5 separate regions of the Homo sapiens genome follow, and all the other regions are linked to region 1. Evidence: promoter capture Hi-C in 16 types of primary human blood cells and fetal thymus (Javierre and others, 2016). All regions are on one chromosome and are shown on one strand. The core of a region is centred on a gene start or on the middle of the fragment in contact, and the rest is flanking DNA. Distances in the headings are between cores, read along the strand shown.

Region 1 (3,847 bases), core at 436-2,935:
GGGCCTGAAGAAGACAGGGCACCCTCAAGTCCGCAGCCTGAACTTCAGCCTCCAGCTCACCCTCTTCTTTGTTCTTCCAACCAGTCTCTCAGCCATAGTCTGATGCCATTTCTTTTGCAGGGAATGCCCATGCTTCACCCTCTGAAGCCTGCTGCCTGCCCAGTCCCTCACCTGGTTCCCTGCCAAGTAGCACCTTTATTCTTCTTTTATAGATGAGGAAACAGAGGCTCAGAGAGGGAGAGTAACCTGTTAAAGCCACACAGCTTTACCCTAGAATTTGATAATGATGGGTGGATAGAACTCTGTGCCAGCTGTGTGGTCTCGGGAACGTCACTTAGCCTCTCTGTGCTGAGTCCTCATCTGTGAAATGGGGTACCTATCACAACATAAGGTTGGTGTGAGGTTTACAAAGAGACTGTACTGTGCCACCAACATCCCTTAGCTCCCCAGGCCAGTTAGCGGCTTTCACATGGTCCCTACCCCACTCCCCCGCGGCACACATTCAACTTTCATTCATACATCAGTTCCCTCCAACACCTTCTCTGCGCCTGGTCCTGTGCACACACTGAAGACGGCTCCTTGGCCAAGCACAGGGCTCACACCTATAATCTCAGCACTTTGGGAGGTCGAGGCAGGAGGATCGCCGGAACCCAGGAGATCGAGACCAGCCTGGAAAACATAGGGAGACCCTGTCTCTACAAAAAATTTAAAAATTAGCCAGATGTGGTGGTGCACGCCTGTAGTCACAGCTACTCCGGAGGCACAGGTGGGAGGATCTCTTTAGCCTGGAAGTTCGAGGCTGCAGTGAGCCGTGATAGTGCCACTGCACTCCAGCCTGGGCCACAGAGCGGGACCCTGTCTCAAAATAAAATGAAATAGAAAATAAAGACGGCTCCTGCACCCAACGCGCGGGGTGGGAAGGGGCGGGAGCGGACTGCAGATGCATCACGATTCGAAGTGTGTGTCCTCACACAACTCTGCTCTTGAGTTCGTATTTTTAAAATTGACCACGACGCTCCTCCTCGGGGATGGGCGCAGGGAAGGGAGGCTTGTGGAAGACAAATTCGCTCATTTCCAAAAACTTATTTTTCACCGTTTCCTGAAATCTGAACACTTCCCAGCCCAACTCTCACCTCTGAGCGCCGAGCACTAGAAGCTAGGGAGAAGCAAGGTGTCGGTGGCATCCCACCACTCAGGAGGGCTCGCTCCAGCGTCCCTGGGACCCCTGACCCCGGATATCCTCCACCTTGCCTCGCCCCGGCTTCTTTTCCTACACTGGCCCCTGCTCCTTCCCCGTGACCCCCGCAATCCCCGCACAGCAGTCCCCATGCCCCCGTCCCAGGCAAGCCAGCCCTCTCGCCTCTCCCTCCTTCCGGGTCCCGAGGCCAACCCCCTCCCCGATTCGGCCCGTTCCGAACCCCCAGCCCCGCCATTGTCCTCTTGCAGCCGCACCTCTCCATTGTCCGCCCCGCCCTCTCCGAGGTAGAATCCGCTTTCCGCAGGGCGCCGCTCCGCTCCCACCCTCGGATTGGCTCCTGCGGCCCCACGCGCGAGGCCCGGGAAGGGGAGAGGGCGCGCACCCCGCCCCTGCCCGCAGCCGGCCGGGGGCGGGGTCTCTGCTGACTCCGCCCCGTCCGGGCGGGGCCGCGCAGGCTGGCGCTGGGGCGCTGGGCGGCGCTGTTTCGGCTGAGCTCGGGCTGCGGCTCCGGTGGGGGTGGGTGGCGGGGATGACAGCGGAGGTGGCAGCGGCGCGGCGCTGAGCGAGCGGCGAGGGAGCAGGGGAAGAGGAGGAAGTGGAGCCGCGGCCGGGAGCTCGGGAGTCGGCCGCCGCGCCGAGGTTCGCCCCGTTTTGCAGAGAGAGCCGAGTCGGGACCTGGAAAGACTTCCCCGCGGGGCTCCGGCCGCCGCGCCTCCCCGCCGGCGCCTGCCCTGCCCTGCCCGTCCCAGCCCCGCGGTTCGGGGCGTGCGGCCGGGACGCGCGGAGCCCCGGCCCTGACCCGCTGCGCCGGGACGGGACGCTCCTAACGCCGCCGTACCGGTCCGTGGTTGCAGGGTCGCTCCGCGCCTTTCCGTCAGTGAGGGTCGGAACCCCAGCTCCAGGGCTAGCGCAGTGTGGCCCCAGGCCCTCGCCTCCGGTGCACGGGACCCCGGACCCCCCCAGCCTCTGGCTTCACGAGACCCCAACCTTCAGTTGGAACAGCTTGGAACAGCGCGAGCGCCCGGGAAGCCCTGGCCGGGTCGTGCGCTCGGTGAGGGGTCCTAGGCGGGCAGGACAGTCGGACCGAACCGCCGGGCTGGTGCCGCGAGCCCAGGCTGTCACCTTCGTCCCGCCTCAGGTGAGGGGTTCAGCGCCTGCCCCGAAGATAACACAGGGGTCCCCTTCTGTCCCGGCGGCCTGCGAGAGCCAAGGCTGCAGGTGAGAGCCCCGGATGCGCGGCAGGAGCGGTCCCCGACCCCATCGCGGCAGCGCGGGGGCCAGCGGAGGGAGTGTCAGGGGAAACAAGCAGAGGCTGGAACTGGCTGGGAGGGGGCGCGGGAAGGGGAGGGGAAAGAAAGAAAACGGGTACTTATTGAGCGCCCATTGTGTGCGGGTTCGCGCCCTGCCCCGCCCCGCCCCGCCTAAGCCTCACTGCTACTCCTGAAATAGGTGTTGTGTATTATTATCGGCGCTTGCAGATGGAGAAACTGAGGCTTAACGGGGCTGAGTGACCTCCTTTCACTGCGGGGAGGAGACTGGGGAAGCGGGAGAGGATAGAGGGGGAAGAGGCAGAGCACTTGAGCGCTGATGCTAAAGCTGAGGAAGTGGCTTCTTCTTGCCTCCCGCTCCCTGGCCATGTCACCCGCGAGGAAAGGTGACTCAGAGTTGAGGGTAGAGGTGGGAAGCTTCCCAGTTCCAAAGCTTCTCTCCCTGTGGGCCCAGGATGTGAGAGCAGCAGCTCCTGGCCCTTGTGTGTCAGACTCCAGGGTCTCTAAGACACTCTGGAGGTCCTGAGACGTGCTTATCTGTTGGTGAATTCACTGCAGAGATCCCCAAGTAAGGGTCTGTCAGAGCTGGAGATGTAGCCCCTCTGGGGTGGCTGGAGATGTGGCTCACGTGACTCACCTCCCTCACATTACTAATGGGGACACTGAGGCCCACCCGAAGGGAGTGCCAGTTGTCCGATCCTAAAGCCAGTGAGTCCTTGAGCCACAAGTAGACTTGAGAAAACCTTCCTGAGCATCCTTCAAGGTATGCACACTCCTCCCCAGTTAGGATCTTCTGGATAGGTGGCTGGGGCTTTCCCTATCGCTGATGTGAGATCTGGGCGACCATGTATGAGGCTGTGGTGAGAATTAGTGTGGTTGGTTGCTGGGGCCCCGAGGAATGCCTGCAACCGCATTGCCTTTGGCCCAAATGGAAGGTCCAACCTCATTTTCTTCTGGGCAGGGGAACCTGCAGGATACCTCTGCCCAGGAAGGAAGGGACCTGCTCAAGGTCTCAAGGCTGGGGGCTCCCAGGGCTGGGGCACAGTCCCAGGTGTCTTTATTCCCAGGCAGGGGATGCTTCTGCTGCCCCCAAGGCATGTAGGGAGAGGGGTGTTGTGAAAGAGCCCTTGGCATGGACTCTGTGGGCTCTTATTCTGTGTGGGGACGGGGAGGGGATATGGCCTTGGTCTGGGCCCTGTGGCCTTGGCTAGGCCTAGTTAACCCTAGAGATGCCCAACTCCCTGGAGTCAAGGGGAAACCACCTTGGAAAGCCCCTGGAAGGTGGAGGAGCGTGGTGAGAGGTCTGTGGAAGTCTGAAGCTCAATCCCTGGGGGTGGAAGGGTTAGGGGATCCCAAAAGACAAGGTGACTGAGGGGCTTGG
Region 2 (3,847 bases), core at 952-3,451, 220 kb after region 1:
GAAATTTCTGGAATGTGGATGTCTACACTGGGAAAAAGTGGGGCACAGTGGCTCACACCTGTAATCCCAACACTTTGGGAGGCTGAGATGGGCGGATCACTTGAGGTCAGGAGTTTGAGACCAGCCTGGCCAACATGGTGAAACCCTGTCTCTACTAAAAACACAATAATTAGCCGGGTGTGGTGGTGTGCACCTGTAATCCCAGCTACTCTGGAGGCTGAGGCAGGAGAATTGCTTGAGCCCAGGAGGCGGAGGTTGCAGTGAGCCAAGATCATGCCACTCCACTCCAGCCTGGGTGACAGAGCGAGACTCCATCTCCAAATAATAATAATAATAATGATAATAATAATCTGGGGGAAAAACATCATAAATTGTGTTTTCTACCCAAGACTGTAGGGAGACAGACAGTTTAAACATTTCCCTGTCCCAGCAGGAGTAACATGACCATCTCCTCCCACCCGCAAGGCTTTCTCACCTGAGGGACACTTGGGGGAGAACTCTCCCTGAGCAGGGGGTGGGGGCAGGACACTGGCCAGGATAATGATGATGACAATTTCATAGTATCATAGCACAATGTCAGCTTCCCTGTGTTGAGTCACTACTGGGGATCAAGTTTTTACACCTATCCCCAGCCTATGGGGTGGATATTATCCCCATTCTCTAGGCGAAGGAAGCTGAGCCTTCCAGAGGATAGGAAATGGGCCTGAGGTCACACTGGGCTCAAGCAGAGACTCAGGCAGGGACTGTCTGCTTCAGCCTCTGGGCCCTTTTGGCTGCCAGCAACCTTCTCTTCCTGCATCTCAGCCCCAGGAAGGCTGGGCAGCGCTCAGGCGCAGTCTGTGGGCTCTTTGGTATCCAGCTGCCAGCCCGCCTGGGGAAATTTTGATTAGCCCTTGATTTTCAGATCTCCAGCTTCATGGGTTAACAGAAAATAAGCCAAGCTCTTTTAAGAAACTCTCCCCTCTGTCCATGGCCCCCTCTTTCCTCACTCTGCACCACCTGAGAATTTTCAAAAATATGCTTCATGGCCAAAGAAGTGAACCCGTGAATGCGGCAGGAGGCTTGGGGAATTGCTGTCGGCCTAGAAGTCTGTGGGAAGTCTGCAGCCCAGGAGTCTGACTTGGCCAGAACCCCTCACTCCCCAGCCACCACCCCTGACCCCTCTGGCCTGCCAGGCACTGCCCTGTGCCCTGGGAGCTATGGCAGATTTGAGCAGGGATGTGACAGGAGACGGGAACCACAGAAGCCGGCGGTCCCCATCCCAGTCTGACTCTGGGCACACTAGCGAGTCTCCCTGAGCCCAAGCTTCCTGGCCCTGGTGTGAGACTCTTCTCTCACTCGGGCTTTGATTTCTCCCTCTGGGAAATGAAGCAGGTGGGACTGTGCTCCCTCAGGCTCCGGAAATCTCTGAAATGGGGTGACATTTCTTGCCTTCCTGCCTCCTTCCCCCTCCTGGGCTGTCCTGAGAAGCAGGTGCACTGATGGTGGGTAAACAGAAGGGCCACACTCTGACACAGGGAGGGCTGGGAAATTCTGGCAGAGCAGACGAGCCGGTACACAAATAACTCTGCTACCAGGGAGAATGCGATAAGGGCCTAGGAACCTCTCTGCAGCCGCTGCCACCTGCTCCCCGCACCTCCCTGCTCCCTGATGGCTGCTCTCACACTGAGGAAAGTGGGTCAGAATGTAGGGTGGCTGCGTCTGAGTGAATGCCCCCTTGCGTCTCCCCACCCTACCCAGCTGAGCCATGGCTGCTATTGGACAGGGATGGGGGAACGTATGGGATTGAGGGCATCTCTGGGTCCAAAATATGGCCCTGGCCAGTCATTCTCCCTCCCCTCAAATGTGCATGGCTCCCTATTGCCTTCTGGATAAGGTCCAAGTTCCTTAGCCCGGCACTCAAGGCCCTTCACAGCCCTACCCTCCTAGCCGAAGGCCCTCACATAGAGGTGCTCCGTGATTCTCTGTGGAGCAAACGGACCATTCTCCAGCCCAGCCTCTTCCCCTGGGGCTCCTCCCAGGCACTTGGGGCACACTCCAGCCACACCAGAGGCTCGCTGTCTCCTGAGCACCTGGTGGATTCAGTTGCCCTCTCCAGGCCTCTGCCTGCAGTGTGGTCACCTTCTGCACCTTGTGTGTCCTTCAAGATCTTCCTCATTGCTACCTCCTCCCTTGAAGGCTTTTTTTTTTTTTTTGAGATGGAGTCTCGCTCTGTTGCCAGGCTGGAGTGCAGTGGCATGATATTGGCTCACTGCCACTTCCTCCTCCTGGGTTCAAGCGATTCTCCTGTCTCAGCCTCCAGAGTAGCTGGGACTACAGGCGCCCACGACCATGCCTAGCTAATTTTTGTATTTTTTTTTTTTTTTTTTTGAGACGGAGTCTCGCTCTGTCGCCCAGGCTGGAGTGCAGTGGCGCGATCTCGGCTCACTGCAAGCTCCGCCTCCCGGGTTCACGCCATTCTCCTGCCTCAGCCTCCCGCGCAGCTGGGACTACAGGCGCCCGCCACCACGCCCGGCTAATTTTTTTGTGTTTTTTAGTAGAGACGGGGTTTCACTGTGTTAGCCAGGATGGTCTCGATCTCCTGACCTCGTGATCCGCCCGCCTCGGCCTCCCAAAGTGCTGGGATTACAGGCGTGAGCCACCGCGCCCGGCCCTAATTTTTGTATTTTTAGTCGAGATGGGGTTTCACCATATTGGCCAGGATGGTCTCAATCTCTTGACCACATGATCCGCCCACCTCGGCCTCCCAAAGTGCTGGGATTAAAGGTGTGAACCACAGCGGCCAGCCCTGAAGGCTTTTTTGACTCCCCAGACAGAACCACATAATCCCACCTCTCAGGCAGTATTGTGAGTGATTAAAAGTGTGGTCTCTGGAGCTGGAGTATCTGGGCTCTGATATCTAGCTCTGTTGCTTACTTGCTGTGTGACCCTAGGCAAATTACTTAACCTCCCTGTGCCTCAGTTTTCTCATCTGTGAAATGGGATGATAGTAACACTTATTATAGAGTTGTTGGAGAAATAAGTGAGTTAATATTTGTAACTCACTTACAGCAGTAACTGGACCTGGTTTCTCTCCTGGATAACCTGGATAAGCTTTCTTTTCTTTCTTTCTTTCTTTTTTTTTTTTTTTTTTTTGAGACAGAGTCTCACTGTGTTGCCCAGGCTGGAGTGCAGTGGTGCAATCTCAGCTCACTGCAACCTCGCCTCCTGGGTTCAGTGTTTCTCCTGCCTCAGCCTCCTGAGTAGTTGGGATTACAGGCACGTGCCACCACACCCGGCTAATTTTTGTATTTTTAGTAGAGACAGGGTTTCACCATGTTGGCCAGGCTGGTCTCAAACTCCTGACCTCGTGATCTGCCCCCCTCGGCCTCCTAAAGTGCTGGGATTACAGGCGTCAGCCACTGCGCCTGTCCTACCACCATCTTTTTAAACTTCATCCATCCTCATACTTGAATAATTCTCTTAGGGCATTCATTTAACCATAGTCATCCTATATTTATTTATTGAGCACCTACTATATCCTAGGTACCATGCTATGCCCCAGAAATACAGTGAATATAACACAAATAATATCTCTACTTTCATTGTTGCTATAAAAGTGAAGCAGAGGGTGTTATCAGACCATTACAAAGTATGGTAAGTGCTATGAATGGGGACACACTGGATGTGGAGCTGAGGGGCTCCTAACCCAGACTTAGAGGGTAGTCAGGGAAGGCTTCCTGGAAAAAGGATAGCTGAGTATACGATACATTAGGCCTGGGGAGGGATCTCAGGATTCACAGAAACATGGATCCTGGATTGTAAAATCACAGAACCAGAGACTCTTACATCAAAGCATTCAGAGTTT
Region 3 (3,847 bases), core at 365-2,864, 200 kb after region 1:
TTGAATCTGCCTCCTAACTGGTCTCTCTGCTTCCACTCCAGTCTCTCTGCCCTTCCATTCGCCTCCCAGCAGCCAAAGTGAACGTACTAAAGCATGACTGCATTGTGTCAATTATCTGCTGAAACCCCACCAACATCTTATCACGGTGACAGAGTAATATCCACACTTCTGATCTGGCCTTCTGGTGACCAGGCCCTGCCCCCATGTCCCTGCTGGCCTTGTACCTTCAGTGATTCCCCTGTCTTCCCCTAGAACCCTCCCATAGTAGGTTTGGTGTTTTTTGTTGTTGTTGTTTTGTTTTTTGAGATGGAGTCTTGCTCTGTTGCCCAGGCTGGAGTGCAGTGGCATGATCTTGGCTCATTGCAACCTCTGCCTCCTGGGTACAAGCGATTCTCCTGCCTCAGAATCCCAAGTAGCTGGGATTACAGGCATGTGCCACCATGCCTGGCTAGTTTTTGTATTTTTAGTAAAGACAGGGTTTTGCCATGTTGGCCAGACTGGTCTCGAACTCCTGACCTCAGGTGATCCATCTGCCTCAACCTCCCAAAGTGCTGGGATAACAGGCGTCTGGCTGGTAGGTTTGGTTTTGTTTTGCCCCAGTTCAGCACCCCAGCCCTTGTCCCTTTTGGAGTTAGTACTGCTGCTTCTTCAACTCTTAGCCCGGATGTCACTTTCTTGGGGAAGACTTCCCTGACTCCTTAGGCTGGTCTGTGCCCATCCTGGGCTCTTGGAGCCCTCCACTTTATAGCATTTATTGTGAGAGTCACCATATACTTGTTTGTATGATGCCTGTCTTGCAGGGCTGCTGTGTTACCTGCTTGTAGGAACGCTCTGTGTTCTGTTTGCACTGTGATCTGTGTCATGGTAACCAAAGGAGTTGTGTAGTGCAGAGCCCTGCAGTTTCCCTGGCCAGACGGGAAGCTTTATGTAGACAGGGCCCTTTGCCCAAATCTGCCCTATTCACCATATGTCTGATGGCCAACAGCATCTGACACACAATAGGTGCTCAATAAATTCTGTTGAATATTCATAAGAAGATCTAATGTGTATTACTAGGTGCCAGACACTACACTCACTTAATCCTCAGAACAACCTGATGGGGTGGGCACTGCTATCATCCCATTTTACAGATGAAGAAACAAGTTGAGTGAGGGGAGGTCACTTGACTGATGCCCTCTAGCCGGTTCCAACCAAGGCAGACCAGTTCACTAGGATAAAAAAGTGAATGAAAGAAGGACCCCTAAATTCCAGCAGCTTCAAGTAACTCAGATGAGGGCTGTAAGGAAAACACAGACTAAAGTCATCCCATAAAGCCTCTCTCAAATGGTGGTGAGCATGTGTGTAAGGAAGGTGGTTTCCGCCAGCAGGGAGAGAAGAAGGAGAGAAAAGGCCCTGGACAGGAGATGGGTTACTTTGGTGGTCACTCTCCCCTTGGGCTCCAAGCCTGGCTGCCTACTTTCCTGACCACAGCTTCTGCCTCCCAGGCTCACTCTGCCATAATAGAGTCCTGAGGAAGAGGTGGGGGGATGGTGGTGGGGGGGGGTGAGCAGGAATGGGGTGGGATTTTCTTCCACGTGGGGTGGGATTTTCTTCCACGTGCTGAGGTCATACCAGAGGCCTTTGTTCTTACCTACCTGGAGGCCTAAACTTTACCTTGTGCCTCTCCTGAAAGGAAGGAGGGCAGGAAAGCAGGTGTGCAGGTGAGGGAAAACAGAGAACAAGAGAAGTCAAAGGATTTGTCCAAGACACATAGGTCCCTGGGAGCCTCTTAGCCCCCACTAGTGAGTGTATGTGTGTGTCTGTGCACGTGTGTTGTGTTGAGGGCAGAGGGGCAAAGATGATGTCTCCCTATTGCTCAGCTCCCATGGCCCCTCCTGTCTCCTCATCCCAGCCTCCTGTCCCACCAGAGGAAAAGGCCCCCATGAAGGCTTTGCGAATGGAAATGAAGTGTGTCCCAGCGCCCAGTGGTCTGGGAGTCCAGGGCCATCTCTGTGCTGGCACTTCCTCTTCTGGGTTCCTTGGGTTTCCTAGCAGATTCCAGGCTTTCCAGAGACTAGGATGAATTTTACTCTACAATGTTTTTGAGTTTGTGCGGTGCTGGAGCCAGCCCAGCTGAGGTCAGGTCTGAGGGCTTTGGGAAGAGTTGGGTACTTGAGTGGGGTCTCGAAGGAGGAATCGGAGTTACCATGTGGAGCCCATGGCCTCTTCCTCCTGGAGCCTTCAGCCCTTGCGGGAACAGAGCTGAGCAGGCCCTGATGACTGATCCCTCCCCATCTCTGGTGGGGCTATCCAGCCCCCCAAGCTTTCAGAGGCTCCAGCCTCAGGGCCACCATCCAGCCACCCGCCCTTGGAGGCCTCAGCTTCTTTCCCGCCTCCTTCTCCACAGGTCTCAGTCTGCTGGGGATTCTGTTTTGGTTGGAAGGAGGAGGCGGAGGAGTTTGCATGTCTGGCTCTTTCCTCCTTTCTCATTCCTCCTCCTTTCCTCCTGCTTGCTGATCAAGATGTTTCCTCCGCCAGCCTGGCTCCACTCCAGCCCCCTCCCCACCTTGGGCAGGCAGCAGCCATCCTCTCCGGCCTGGGGCTTCTGTGGGCTGTGGCTTCCCAGGGTGCACCCTTAATGCCCTCTTCACCAGTGGAGGGTCTGTAGGCAAATCCTTCAGGATGGGGGCACCTCACCTCTTCTCTTCCTCCTCTGTTGAAGCCCAAATCTCCTGGGAGAAGAGGCTGCAGGACCACTCCAGGGCTGCCTCCTGCTCTGGGGGGGACTTTGGTCTCATCCCTGTCCCCGATGGGGCTTCGGTTTCCTGGGGAGTTCACAGCCAACTGGGCCTCTTGACACAGAGGTACATAGCATGCTTCGTATTTGTTTGGTAGGAGTTTTGTGCTGCTTTGCCAAGCATCTTTACTCCAGGCCTGGAAGCACTGGGTGGGGGCTACCCTCCACCCCACCACCTAGGCAAGTGGCCTGGAATGTAGAATTTGAGTACTTCTAATTTTTCAAACCCCAAGGGGTCCCCCTGGGGACCCTTACGGTCCCTTTCCCTGTCTGCTCCTCCTGGCTTACAGAGCTTCACAGGGATGAAACCAGCGTACATCCTGGCCTGACAGAGCCCAACCTCGGCCTTGTAGCCTTAGCACCTTGCACTGTGCCTGGGGCAGGGCAGATGCTTATTAAATTTTTGTGCAGTGAATGGCTGGAGGAGCAGCCAGGAAATCGCAGGGTGACCTGATGGAGCAGTGAGGACGGACAAGGTGCTGAGGGAACACTTCCCAGAGCCCAACTGCATTTTGAAGGATGAGTAAGAGTTGGACAGAGAGGCAGGGTGGGAAGGGCATTCCAGGCAGGAGCAGCCTGTGCAAAGTCTGAAACAGTGTGGTCAGATCTGGCACTTAGGACATGTGTGAGGAACCTTTCATCTGGGCATGGGCACCCTGGCCTCCTGGAGTGGCACCAGTGATTGGCCCCCTCACCTGGTCCCGGGTCTCTGTGCTGCGGGCCTGGGCTTGGAGAGCACGCAGGCAGTGGAAGGGGAGGATCCTGGGGGCTTGCCAGGGCTCCCCAGGGCTTGAGGCTGTGCTAATCCTTCCCTCCTGAGGCTTGGGCTCTGCTCCCCTGGGCGAGCAGGTTATGGGGTTTGAACCTGTTGGAGCCAGCTGTGGTTCAAGCAGGTTCTAGCTACCTAACATAGATAGAACCAGGTTCAGTTCTGGTCTCCGTAATTTCCTGGCTGGGACCCGGGGTAAATTATTGACTTCTGTGTGCTACAGTTGTTTCTATAATAAAGATAATAGAACCTACCTGGCAAGATTGTTATGAAAATCAAACAAGGAAACTTGTGTAAAGTTT
Region 4 (3,847 bases), core at 955-3,454, 190 kb after region 1:
ACCCAGACAAGTCTCTGCCCTCATGCTGCTCAGATGTATTGGGAGAGAGGAAATAGATGATCTCAACAGCTGCCAGAAGAGGGGTAGTGGGCATCTGTTTATAGCAGGGACAAAACAGGGCCAGAGGTTAAGGATCAGAGGCAGCTCCCCAGAAGTAGGGACTCACGACCTGGTTGGAAAGTGCGTTTGTGTGAGCCAGAGGTAGTACTCTTCCTGGCAGTATCTCTGTGACATGTGTTTTCATCCAGGACTGACTTCCTTCAGCAGACTTGAGAAACCTACTATGTGCCGGCATAGTGTCAGGCACTGGTTTCATCTGCTGTCAGTAAGGAGTGTCTTGGGAATGCAGACTGCTTGAGGACAAAAAAACTAGGGTGAAAAGTGAAAGTTCTGCCACAGGGCATCACAGTAAGTGTTTCTGCCTGGAGAAAGAAAATGGGGTGGGTATATCAGGAGACACTGGGCTCAGCAAACCTGCCATTGGAAACCAGGGTCTACTGTCCTGAGGGTATGGAGAGGAAAGCTTCCCTCTAGCCCAGGAGACACTGCAGAGATCTGATGGCTCTTCCCAGAGGAGCCCATGGGCATGAGACAGTTGAGAAACTATGTCTTAGGAGAAACAGCTCCAGGCTTTGGGGCTGGCAGCCAGGGGCCATGTGCGCTGGTCTCTACAGATTGGAGGGCTATCTTTGGGCACACTGAGGCCACGTGGAGTGGTGGAGAGGAGGCAGCAGGCTGGGGTTCTCCCCTCCCCTTTACCAGTAATTGCATGTCTGTAGGCAAGTTTTCCAGCCTCTGGAGATAATGTGTTCATCCTTTCTCGGTTACAGCTGTGCTAATTAAAGCACCCAGCACATTAGCAGGGCTCATCACTGGTTGATGTTATGATGGGTCTCTATTGCCCCAGGGTACTGGGAGAAACCTACAGACGTTTTAAAACTCAATAAGGAGATTTTTTTTTGCAACAGATTTTTTTGACATTCTAAAAATGACAAAAATGATTACACATCATAATCAAGTGATTAATATGCGTTGTCGTTTCTCCCTGCGCTGACTGTTCCACAGCAGCGATTCAGTACAGCAGTGATTCACTGTGCATACTTGAAACAATTCAGCCACCTCTGATGTTCACCATTTGCAGAGTAAACTTTGTAGTAGGGAGAACTTTCAAAGAACCATGACCTGGCCCCACACTGAGCCCTGACCCAGTGTACAGAAAGACCTGAGTTTCTGTACACTGAGGCTCTGGCCTCAACTTCCATTTGAGTGTAGACCTGGATGGGGGTGTGCTGAGCTCCCTGGAGAAGAGAAAACCATGCCTTCCTGTGGGCAGCCCCAGTTCAGGGGATCCAAACTGAATGGTGATAGAGACATGGCTCCCAAAGTACTGTTCTCCTCATTCTACCGCCACTGGCTCAGGTCAAGCCCCACTCCTGGCCTGGATCATTACAATTGTCTTCTAGTTGCTGTCTTTCTGCTCAGTCCCAACCCTCCAAGCCATCCTGTTATTCTGAAATTCACATCTGGTCATTCTTCCCAGCCTAAGGCCTGATCCACTGCTCCCCATGTCCTATGGGAAAGTCCCCATTCTCTAGGTGGCACTGGAGGCCCTTCAGGATCTGTCTCTAATGTCCCTTCCACACTCCTTTCCCAGCTGTCCCCACCACACTGCTAACAACCTGGCTGCATTGACTTTTTTGGATCTTCCTCAACAGTCTTTGTACTTTTCACGCCTCTGTGCCTTTGCTCAAGCCGATCTCTTTAGCTGGAATGCCCTTCTTCCTCTGGTGAAATATTCCTTATATTTTCAGGTTGAACTTAAAAACATTTTAGCCTGGGTGCGGTGGCTCACACCCTTAATCCCAGCACTTTGGGAGGCCGAGGCAGGCGGATCACTTGAGCACCATTGCACTCCAGCCTGGGCAACAGGAGTGAATCTCCGTCTCAAAAAAAAAAAAAAAAAAAAAAAAAAAAAAAGACATTTCAATGAAATTCATTGAACAACTGCACAGGGCACCTGCTGTAGACATGAAGCCCTCCCTTGACTGCTCCCTGCCCAGGTAGAGTGAATGGCCTCTTCCAGGCTCCCTTAGCACTGTGCAGGCTTCCCGGATGGCACTTTACATTGTAGTTGACTGCTAACAAGTCAGTTCCCTCTCTGCTCGAGGGCAAATGTGTATCTCTTGTCTCTTGGACTCCCAGCTCCTGACTGGGGCCTGGCACAGTGTGGGGCCAGACTTGGGTTAGGGAGTGAGTCAGGGAAGATTCCCTGGAGGAAGTGAGCCCCGAGCTGCTGACTTAAAGAAAAAGCACCCTTTCCCTCTTCTTACTTCCTTCCTGGTCCTCGTGCTGAAGGAAAACAGTCAAAACTTTTTTTTTCCTTTTCTGTTTTTCCTTTGAGATAGGATCTTGCTGTGTCATCCAGACTGGAGTGCAGTGGCACGATCATAGCTCACTGCAGCCTCGAAGATTTTTTGTGGAGATGGGGTCTCACTGTGTTGCTCAGGCTGGTCTCAAACTCCTGGGCTCAAGAGATCCTTCTGCCTCAGCCTCCCATAGTGTTGGGATTATAGGTGTGAGCCACTGTGCCTGGTCTGAAACTGACTTTGAAAAGGGAAATGTATGGCTTTTGAATTGAGGGATGGAATCTCCTAGCCTGGAGATAATTAAATAAGGCTTAGATCTCCCTCTCTCCCTTCACGCATTTCCTGAATACCTAGAACATGCCAGACACTGGAGCTACAAAATGAATTAAATAAAACATGTCTATCTTTTTCTATCTCCATAATGTTCATGCTGGAAACTGCCCTTTTTCTGTTTCATTGGATCAAGTTCAAATCTTAGCAGGTCACTTGTAACTCTGACTCTGGGCACATTGTGCCACCTTTCTGAGCCCTAGTTTTCTTATGCATACCACGGAGGTGATAATATTCCCCTCATAGGGTGGTGATGGATCATGTGTGTGAGGGGCTGAACAGGTGCCTTTGACAGTGGTTTCTCATTGAGTGGCAGCCACTCTCCGACTGGAAGTTTCTTGAGGGCAGTGACTATGTTTGGTAGATAAATGTGTCCTTGGCACCCAGCCCAGGGACCAGGCATGCAGTACATGAGGGTCGTCAGCCATCCCAATTTTCCTGGGACAGTCTCAGTCTCGCATCTCAGGAAACCCCTCAGCTCACTCCTGGGCAAATCAGGACTGTGGGTCACCCTACAGTATCTTCTCATAAAGATTCGTAGAGTAGGTATATCCACGAATTAAGCAAGCATTAGTGAAGGACAGGAGTAGGACTTGAACAGGCCAGGGCAAGCACTGGGTGGCTGCCTTGGGCGCTGAGAGGAGTCAGCAGAAGGGTCTGGAAGGCCTAGCATGTGGACAGTGGGAGGTAGGGGTGGGGCCATCTGCAGCTTGGCAGGGTGTGGGGAGGACATCAGGCCCTGAGTCTGTAAGGTGACTGCTTTCAAACAGGTTTCAGGCTCCCAAGGGCCATGTGCTCTTCCTCAGACACATCCAGAGAGGGCACGGTTGATTCTCACTTTTTTGATTTCTATTAAATATATTGAGCCCTCAGCTACTCTTCCGCCTTGGTAGCTGGAGGCCTCTTCTTCCTCAACCTACTGAGTCTCAGCGTGCCTGCCCACTGCCTTCTGAGCTGTCCATGCCAGACTGAGATGAGACAGGGCAGAGGCACGGGCTGCGAGATGGGAGAGCAGGGCTGCAGGCTCATTCTCAGGCCCAGCCCCAGACACTGAGTGAGCCTTGGTTTCTCACAGGGTATCTGTGAGTTGTCACGTGTGGAAAGCCCCTTGGCATCTTTAGTATGCAATAGGTGCACAGCAAGTCTCATGT
Region 5 (3,847 bases), core at 521-3,020, 160 kb after region 1:
TCTCTCTGGAATTCTCATTAAACAGATATCAGACCTCCTGAATTGATGCTTTATGACTTGATTTTTTTCTACCTATTTAAAAATATTGTGTCTGGGCATGGTGGCTCACACTTGTAATTCCAGCACTTTGGGAGGCTGAGGCAGGGGGATTACTTGAGCCCAGGAGTTCAAGACCAGCCTGGACAACATAGTGAGACCCTGTCTCTATAAAAGGTAAAAAATTAGCCAGGTATGGTGGCATGCACCTGTAGTCCCAACTACTTGGGAGGTTGAGGTGGAAGGATCATATGAGCCTAGGTGTCAAGGCTGCCATGATTGTGCCACTGCCTTCCAGCCTGGGCAACAGAGTGAGACCTTGTCTTAAAAAAAAAAAAAAAAAAAAAAAGGTAAAATAAAGAATTATTTTTTGTCTCTATATTTTTGGAGAACTATATGAATTTTTTTTTTTTTTGAGTCAGAGCCTCGTTCTGCTGCCCCAGGCTGGAGTGCAGTGGTGTGATCTTGGCTCACTACAACCTGCCCCCTCCACGCCCCCCTCAGGTTCAACCAATTCTCTCCTGCCTCAGCCTTCTGAGTAGCTGGGATTACAGGCATGCGCCACCACACCCAGCTAGTTTTTGTATTTTTAGTGGAGAGATGGGGTTCTCCATGTTGGCCCAGGTCTCAAACTCCTGACCTCAGGTGATCCGTCTGTCTCAGCCTTCCAAAGTGCTGGGATTACAGGCATGAGCTACTGTACCCAGCCACTTTTTCACATAAATTTTTTATTTTGGAGTAATTTTAGATTTGTAGGATGCTGGGTGCAGTGGCTCATGCTTGTAATCCCAGCACTTTGGGAGGCCAAAGTGGGTGGATCACTTGAGGTTAGGAGTTCAAGACTAGCCAGGTCAATATGGTGAAACCCCATCTCTACTAAAAATACAAAAATTAGCTGGGAGTGGTGTCAGGCGCCTGTTGTCCCAGCTACTCGGGAGGCAGAGGCTGCAGTGAGCCGAGATTGCGCCACTGCCCTCCAGCCTGGGTGACAGAGCAAGACTCCATCTCAAAAAAAAAAAAAGGGTTTTAGAAAAGTTGCAAAGATAATATACAAAGTTCCCATATACCCTTCACCCACTTTCTTCTAATGTGAGCATCTTACATTGATGGGAGCCGAAAGCCTGAGCGTTGTGACCAACTCAGCATTCCACTGGAGGCTATATGATCAAACAGCAAACTGTTTATCATGAATACAGAATGTGGGCAAACTCGCACCTGCACCTGCTACCAGAAGGTATGCTGAGGGCAGTCACTCCCTGGTGCCGTGCTCCTTGAGGTTATCTATGGGGACATCTGGAGCCTAGTCTTCAAAGAATGTAGTCATGCAGGCCATGTACTAAGTCAAGCAGCTGACCGACAACCACCCCCTTCTCCTTATCTCCTTTACTTAGTAAATACAAAGGGCTCTAGAAGCTCAGGGCCCTTGTTCACTAGAAGCAAGGAGCCCCCTAACCCCTTCTTCCAAATATACTCTTTTGCCTTTGATTTTTTTTTTTTTTTTTTTTTTTTTTGAGAGGGAGTCTCGCTCTGTTGCCCAGGCTGGAGTGCGGTGGAGCGATCTTGGCTCACTGCAAGCTCCGCCTCATGGGTTTACGCCATTCTCCTGCCTCAGCCTGTCAAGTAGCTGGGACTACAGGTGCCCACCACCACGCCTGGCTAATTTTTTGTAGTTTTAGTAGAGATAGGGTTTCACCGTGTTAGCCAGGATGGTCTCGATCTCCTGACCTCGTGATCTGCCTGCCTCGACCTCCCAAAGTGCTGGGATTACAGGCGTGAACCACCACGCCTGGCCTTGTCTTTGTTTTTATTCCCATGTTTGCCCTCCTTTGTTCAGTCCACCAGGGTCCGTGGCATTACATAACTGTGGTCCATCAAAACTAAGAAGTTAACATTCATATATTACTATTAATGAAACTCCAGATTTTCACTAGTTTTCCTACTAATGTCCTTTTCTGTTCCAGGACCCACTCCAGTATTTCCCACCGTATTTAGTCCTCATGTCTCCTTGGTCTCCTCTGTGACAATTTCTCAGTCTTTCCTTGTTTTTAAAATCATTTTCACAGTTTTAAGAGGGCTGGTCAGGTATTCCGCAGAATGTTCCTCAATTTGGAATTTTTCTTATGATTAGGCTGGAGTTAGGTATTTTGGGGGAGAATATCACAACAGTGGAGTGTCTGGCTCATCACATGATATCAGCTGGTGACGTAACCCTGATCACTTCAAGTGTTTGCCAGATTTCTCCACTTTAAAGTTACTATTTTTTTCCCTATCCATACTCTGTTCTTTGGAAGTGAGTCACTAAGTCCAGCACACATTCAAGGCAAGAGGGCTAATTCAACTCCATCTGGAGGGGAGAGTATATCTATATATTATTTGGTATTCCCCTGTAAGGAAGATCTGTCCTTTCCTGCCATGTATTTATTTATTCAACCATTTATTTAGACCACTATGGACTCATGTTTATTTATTTTATACTTTGGGTTATAATCCAATATGACCTTATTTATTTTGTTGCTCATACTGTTCCGGTTTTGGCTATTGAGAGCTCTTTCAGGTTCCTTTTTTTTTTTTTTTTTTTTCAGTGCTTCCTTATTTTCTGGCACTAGCTTCTAGAATTTTTTTTTTTTTTTTTTTTTTTTTGAGACGGAGTCTCACTCTGTTGCCCAGGCTGGAGTGCAGTGGTGCGATCTTGGCTCACTGCAAGCTCTGCCTCCTGGGTTCGTGCCATTCTCCTGCCTCAGCCTCCCAAGTAGCTGGGACTACAGGCGCCCACCACCATGCCCTGCTAATTTTTTGTATTTTTTAGTAAAGACGGGGTTTCACCATGTAGCCAGGATGGTCTTGATCTCCTGACCTCGTGATCCACCTGCCTCGGCCTCCCAAAGTGCTGGGATTACAGGCGTGACCCACCGTGCCCTGCCACTTCTAGACTTTTTAATTATATTTTTTATCTGGGCAATCATGTTTTTTATTTCCCAGGACTCTTTCATGTTGTCTAATTGATCCCTTTATTAGCAGTTCTTTCTTGTTTTATGAATCTAATATAGTCTCAAATTAGAATTTGTTTCTAATTGTAATATTGAAAATACTATTTATTGGATTTAAATGAGCAGAATTACTCTCTAGATAAAGCATGGAAGACTTCATTATAGTTACAGAATAAATTTAAATATTATAACTCTTAGCAATGTAACAGTATAACTATCAGTGTCAGAAGGCTGGAGGAGAAGAGGAGAGATCAAACACTGCACAGATGCTAACTTTTTCATTTTACATAGTATAAATCAAGAGATGCTATCTTGGCCAGGCACGCTGGCTCAAGCCTTAATCCCAGCACTTTGGGAGGTCAAGGCAGGAGGATCAGTTGAGCCCAGGAGTTCGAGACCAGCCTGGGCAATATGTTGAGCCCCCATCTCTATTATAAAAAACAAAAAAAAGAAAAAAAATGACAGATACTATCTAAAGTGCATAGGAATGGAAATAAAGGTTTTAAGCAATTATCAATCAATGGAAGACTAAACTAACACTACAACACAACGTAGAAAGGATTGGGAGATGAGCATTAAAGTAAATGAGCAAATGTCCTTTTTCATGAGAAGAGTCAATAAATGTTAATTCAAGTGGATAAATCAAGAAATTGAGGTATATGCATATCAATCAGATTTGTGGTACAAACTACCATAGCTAAAAGCAGAAAAGGTAAAAATAAAGTTTTTTTAAGAGAGGGGTTAAGGGCTGGGCGCAGTGGCTCACGCCTGTAATCCCAACACTTTGGGAGGCCAAGGCAGGCTAATCACAAGGTCAGGAGATT

What was found. The method cuts DNA at HindIII sites, captures the fragments that hold promoters and counts their contacts. A CHiCAGO score of 5 or more calls a contact.
Region 2: a contact is called between a fragment that was not itself captured here and the fragment with the promoter of GDPD5 in region 1, in 1 of 17 cell types (naive CD4 T cells). The highest score is 5.7, in naive CD4 T cells.
Region 3: a fragment that was not itself captured here is called in contact with the fragment with the promoter of GDPD5 in region 1 in 3 of 17 cell types (non-activated CD4 T cells, naive CD4 T cells and endothelial precursors); the score reaches 5.9 in non-activated CD4 T cells.
Region 4: a contact is called between a fragment that was not itself captured here and the fragment with the promoter of GDPD5 in region 1, in 3 of 17 cell types (activated CD4 T cells, erythroblasts and non-activated CD4 T cells). The highest score is 5.8, in activated CD4 T cells.
Region 5: a contact is called between a fragment that was not itself captured here and the fragment with the promoter of GDPD5 in region 1, in 1 of 17 cell types (naive CD4 T cells). The highest score is 5.3, in naive CD4 T cells.

What each region holds. Positions count from the first base shown.
Region 1 is chr11:75,523,779-75,527,625 of GRCh38, reverse strand. GDPD5 (glycerophosphodiester phosphodiesterase domain containing 5) reads left to right here and starts at 1,685. Exons shown (of 17, transcript NM_030792.8): 1 at 1,685-2,416. RefSeq lists silencers at 1,358-1,417, 1,468-1,987 and an enhancer at 1,834-2,334. The HindIII fragment of the contact is 5,380 bases long and covers 1-2,885 here.
Region 2 is chr11:75,299,491-75,303,337 of GRCh38, reverse strand. The region is part of intron 1 of ARRB1 (arrestin beta 1); the gene reads left to right. Among named protein-coding and RNA genes, the nearest start is that of MIR326, 34 kb to the left of the region's middle. The HindIII fragment of the contact is 1,788 bases long and covers 1,308-3,095 here.
Region 3 is chr11:75,318,962-75,322,808 of GRCh38, reverse strand. The region is part of intron 1 of ARRB1 (arrestin beta 1); the gene reads left to right. Among named protein-coding and RNA genes, the nearest start is that of MIR326, 14 kb to the left of the region's middle. The HindIII fragment of the contact is 1,381 bases long and covers 924-2,304 here.
Region 4 is chr11:75,335,917-75,339,763 of GRCh38, reverse strand. All of the region lies in intron 1 of ARRB1 (arrestin beta 1), which reads left to right. Among named protein-coding and RNA genes, the nearest start is that of MIR326, 2.7 kb to the right of the region's middle. The HindIII fragment of the contact is 3,357 bases long and covers 526-3,847 here.
Region 5 is chr11:75,364,508-75,368,354 of GRCh38, reverse strand. No RefSeq gene overlaps it. Among named protein-coding and RNA genes, the nearest start is that of ARRB1, 15 kb to the right of the region's middle. The HindIII fragment of the contact is 5,328 bases long and covers 1-3,847 here.